Linked DNA regions of Homo sapiens: region 2 is linked to region 1. Evidence: promoter capture Hi-C in human tissues and cell types (Jung and others, 2019). All regions are on one chromosome and are shown on one strand. Each heading gives the region's core, a stretch centred on a gene start or on the middle of the fragment in contact. The rest is flanking DNA. Distances are from core to core; before and after follow the strand shown. Region 1 overlaps MAPKBP1 (mitogen-activated protein kinase binding protein 1). Region 2 holds the start of LTK (leukocyte receptor tyrosine kinase).

Region 1 (2,525 bases), core at 16-2,515:
AATCTGGTAGAGAATCTGCTTTGTGAGATTAGAGTGTAGTGTGTGGGCAAGAGACAAATATAGTTCTTAACCTGCAGGAAGGGAGGGGAAGGCGAAGAGTGCTCTGCCTTGGACAGGTCTCTGACATGCTTGTTTATAGAAACAGCAAGTCCATGGTTTGGCTGGAATGACTTACAACTCAGGTATTTATAACTTGAATTGAGTGGGATTGAGAAGTGGGGGAAGGGAAAAGGGGGAAGAAAGTAGCTGGTGGCAACAAAACATAGCAACAAAAACAGATCTTTTTCCTCACAGTTGCTGGGGTTTCTTTACCAGTATGAGGTCAGCCAAATCCTAGGGGACCCTGGCCTTTTGTGACTCTGGCCTCTTAGTTCTCTATCTCAAGGGAGCAGCCACTCCCGTGCCATTGCAGACTTCCTGTAGTGGTCCCTCACACTAAAAGGGAAAGCATTTCCTGCCAACTTCTGTTGTGGGTCCAAGCAGGAAGCCCTTCCTAACAGTGCCACTGTCTTGGCTCCACCTGGACTCGCTTCCATTGGCTAGTGCCTGTCCTCTAGCTCGTGAACTGATCAGATCCAGGGACTTGAGAGAGCAGAAAAGCTTCGAAGGCCCTGCCCAGTGTCTAGGATTGTATGTTTAGGGCTCTGGGACCGCTTGGGATCTTATGCTGTGCCACCTCTGTTGAGGATGGCTCTGGACTCTGGAGAGTTCTGTCCTTGCCTCCTTCATTTCTTTCAGCACTCACTATTAATCACCCCTCCCTTCTGGGAGCTCTCCACTTCACTGGCTTCCTGGTTCTCCTCCTCTCTTTCTCACTGCCTGTACCTCATCTTCTCCATGCTCTAAAAATAGGTGTTGTCTGAGGTTGGGAGTTTGAGACCAGCCTGACCAACATGGAGAAACCCCGTCTCTACTAAAAATATAAAATTAGCCAGGTGTGGTGGCGCATGCCTGTAATCCCAGCTACTTGGGAGGCTGAGGCAGTAGAATCACTTGAACCCGGGAGGTGGAGGTTGCTGTCAGCCGAGATCGTGCCATTGCAGTCTAGCCTGGGTAACAAGAGTAAAACTCCATCTCAAAAAAAAAAAAGACTGCAATCTGCAGGCTGGAAACTACTGTTCTATCTAGTATGAATGAGCAGTCCTGTCTCTTGCCTCTACGCCACCTGTTTTTTCCATCTACTTTAATGAGAGCCAGAAGAGCACTTAAACACGTGGCTTTATTCTTTCTTTCTCTCCTGGGAATAGGCTAGTATGAAGTTACCCCTTTATCTTATTAAAGTGAGAGATGATTTTGCTGGCCCTCTTTCTCTCTGGAGGATATGATAGTGCTCTGCCTAGTTCCTACTGGGAGTGGTGGGTATTCAAGCCCTCCCTCACATTATACTTGTAGTAATTCTGCCTCCAGTAGCCTTGCTTCAGGGGAAAGATGACACCTCTGTCAGGTTGGTATACGCTTTCTTCCATCTCAACACTGTCCACCTGCCAAAGCAAAAGCTGGGTCACAGTTTGGGTATTCTCCATGCTTCAAGGCTGCATTCTGGGTGTGGAGGAGCTCACTGTAGAGAACCAAGTGGGTCCTCTCTTCTTCCTTCTGAGTTTCCACTTGTGCATGAAGCAGTGTTCCTAGAGCTGTAGATGGATGGGTCAGGGTGCCAGCTGCCTGCAGCAGTTGTGTCCCAAGTCACTGCCCAGACACAGTTGCCTGGACTGGTGTGTCTCCTGGGCTGTATTTCATCGGCATTTGGGCCTTGAAGGTTTGGAGCTGAAGTTCCTGTCAGAACTTTGGGCTGAATCCCAGACTTTATGGACAGTAATTTTCTCGCAGGGCCTCTTTCCTAACTCACTTTCTTCAAGCGATCCTTGAGGCCAGAACTCTCACTTGTGGGCTTGCTTCCTCATGTGGAAAGATGCTGTAGTATTTAGAGGGGTGGGTCATTGGTTCTCAGAGTGTGGTCTGAGAAGCCTGGAGTCCCCAAAACCCCTTTAGGGGGTCCATGATGTCCTGTTTCCAACTACATATCCAAATGAGGCTAGGTTTTCTTCGCATACTTCCACTAGATAATGTCAGGACAGATTGAATGCAGATGCAGATATGAGAACCCAGCTCCCTTCTGTTAAGCCAGATATGAAAAAGGTTTGCAAAAATGTAAAACAGTGCCATTCTTCTCACTAATTATTTTTGTTTTGGAAAATAAAGTTATATTTAATAAGAACGCTAATATGTGGGCTGGGTGCAGTCGCTCACGCCTGTAATCCCAGCACTTTGGGAGGCCGAGATGGGTGGATCATGAGGTCAGGAGATCGAGACCATACTGGCTAACACGGTGAAACCCCGTCTCTACTAAAAATACAAAAAATTAGCCGGACGTGGTGGCATGTGCCTGTAGTACCAGCTACTCGGGAGGCTGAGGCAGGAGAATAGTGTGAGCTTGCAGTGAGGCAAGATTGTGCCACTGCACTCCAGTCTGGGTAACACAGTGAGACTCCGTCTCAAAAAAATAAATAAAAATAAAAAAAGAATGT
Region 2 (2,525 bases), core at 19-2,518, 280 kb before region 1:
ACTACTGCCACCTTGAAGGGCACTCAAGGTGGACCTCCCCGCGGAATAGTCCAAGACGCAAGTCGGTGCGCACGTGGACTTCGTTACCCTGAGGGTGAAACCTCCAACTAGCAGGTCACTGTCCACCCTACCTCCGCCGTGCACTTACAGATACTGGCCAGGGCCCGGCACGCGCCACAGCTGCACGCCTCTCAGCTGCCCGGCGGCCCCCACGGTCACCACCACGCTGGTCCCCGCGTACGCCCCGTCACATTGTGTCTGTGTGGGCCCATGCCGGCCGCTGGCCCCGCAGGTAGAAAACAGCCAAGACCCCTCGGTGCCTGAGAGCAAGGAGCGAGGCAAGGGTCGTCGAGCCCCTGGCTGGGCCAGAGGGGTCTGGTATGGTGAGCGAAAGAGGAAGGAGGCGTCTAAAGCTCACCCGGAGAATTCAGCGGGGAGGCTGGCTCCAAGATACTAGGCGGGGCGCTGACTTTCGGGTCCCGGGGGCTGGGACTTGCCAGCGGCAGGGGCGAGGACCGCAGAAAAGTCTCCTGGGACCCCGGGCTAGAGCAGAGAATGGCGCCTGAAAGGTGTTGGGAGAAGGCGCAGGACGTTAAGGCGGGTGGAAATAGGATATGAAAGAAAGAGAGAACCCCGCAACAGCTGCCCTTGCGGTCGCGGCCACACCCGTCACCCGGCCCAGCCGCGCTCTCAGCCTGGAAGCCACTACCCGACTCCGGTCGCAGAAGCCCCGCGGGTGCGCGCTGATAGGTCTGCCAGTTTCTCTCCTCGAGCGCCTTTCCCAGTGAATAACTTAGGGGCCGCAATGAATTTGGTCCTGCAGCCTCCCCAATGCTTTCCTCAACTTAGATTGGTGGCCCCGCCCCAAGGCGGTGCTGAGACCCCAAAGAATGTTCCTCCTTCCCAAGCTGCGTGATCCAGACTCTGGGATTCGCACGCACTTGGCGCTTCTCGGCCCGCACTCCAGAAGCACGGACCGGAGAAATTTGGCTGTGAGAGTTCGAGGCCTCTGGAGGAACCACTGACACCTGGCCTGTTGACCGGCCACCCCCAAGCCTAGGAAAGTGCCTCAGGCTGGACGGTCCCCTGACCGCCAGATAGCACTTACCCGCGGCTCCGAACCACACCAGCAGCTGTCCCCAGCAGCCCATCCCTGTTGGGTCCACCCGGCAACAAAAGCCCTTGCGGTCGCGGCCACACCCCTGTCAACCTAAAGTTGACAGCTCATTTTGCCACGGCAGCCCTGGCCACCACTTACAGGGGTGTGCTGCCGCTGGCGAGACACTCCCCGGACCTAAAGCTGGTCTGGCCACGCCCACCTCAGACCCCAGGACGCCAGAGGAGGAAAGGGAGGGGCGTGTGGGCAGCGAGGTCCCTACGCTTCCGGGAGGAGCCTTAAGGAGTCCCCACCCAGGGGTTCTAGTTTCCAGCCGTCAGATGTGCCGCAGCCTGCTGGGAGCTCCGGTAGGTTTGAGGCCGGAGAGGAGGTGCCCCACGCTTAAAGTGGGAGCCACACCTCGGACACCAGGTGGGGGCTTCCAGGTTCCTGAGGACAGGAGCAGTGGAGTGTGCACTTCATTTGTGGCAGTGGTGGTGGTGGTGAGTGTGTGGCATGCGTCACCACACGTGGGAAGTACTCTAAACTGCTCCAAGTAAGGCCTCATTACCTGCCATTACTTGTGCCTTTTAGTGGTGCCTTTGTGACTGCAAGGCTGAACCTCATTGCTACTCCCAGAAACCTGGATCTCTGTGTTTGCCTCATATAATTCCGTTGCCTGTGTTACCCCTGTGCACAGCCTCTCACTGTGATGGGGTGAAAGACTGGACCAGACGTTAGAAGATCCGAGTGTTTTTAGTAGCACTGAAGGTCAATAGATGATAGGTAGGTAGACCGATCGATCGATTGATCTTGAGCACTAGTACTGGCACCTCTGGTCAATGGGTGATGTAGCACAGGCCACAACTGCCCTGAGAGTTTCCCCACCACCTGCAAAATCATATGAAGGGAAATTGCTCTGTAAGGTACCCTACAAATGTGGGAGCCACTCCCTTCAGGTAGTTTTGTGTCTTGAGTCTTCGATCATTTGCTTAAATGATCATTTGCCGGGTGCGGTGGTTCATGCCTGTAATCCTAGCACTTTGGGAGGCTGAGGCGGGCAGATCACCTGAGGTCAGGAGTTCGAGACTAGCTAGACCATCATGGCAAAATCCCGTCTCTACTAAAAATACAAAATCAGACACACGTGGTAGCGCACGCCTGTAATCCCAGCTACTCTGGAGGCTGAGGCAGGAGAATGGCTTGAACCTGGGAGGCAGAGGTTGCAGAGACGAGATCGCACCATTGCACTCCAGCCTGGGCAACAAGAGCAAAGCCCCATCTCAAAAAAAAAAAAAAAAAAAAAATCCTAACTTGAAAGTCTGAGACCTATGTTTAATACAAAATACTTCAAAAGAGAAGTTATAGTAGTTAGCTACTTGGTAAAGTCTGAGTATAATTCAAGGTGTAAACAGAACAGTGATTTTGT

The links. Contacts are between HindIII fragments. The study calls those that stand out against the background at their distance.
Region 2: a contact is called between the fragment with the promoter of LTK here and a fragment that was not itself captured in region 1, in 1 of the 25 tissues and cell types used here (mesenchymal stem cells).

What each region holds. Positions count from the first base shown.
Region 1 is chr15:41,790,979-41,793,503 of GRCh38, forward strand. The region is part of intron 2 of MAPKBP1 (mitogen-activated protein kinase binding protein 1); the gene reads left to right. Among named protein-coding and RNA genes, the nearest start is that of MAPKBP1, 18 kb to the left of the region's middle. The HindIII fragment of the contact is 8,436 bases long and covers 1-2,525 here.
Region 2 is chr15:41,512,559-41,515,083 of GRCh38, forward strand. LTK (leukocyte receptor tyrosine kinase) reads right to left here and starts at 1,269. Exons shown (of 20, transcript NM_002344.6): 1 at 1,109-1,269; 2 at 419-562; 3 at 149-320. The coding sequence starts at 1,151. RefSeq lists an enhancer at 101-848 and a silencer at 555-634. The HindIII fragment of the contact is 13,334 bases long and covers 1-2,525 here.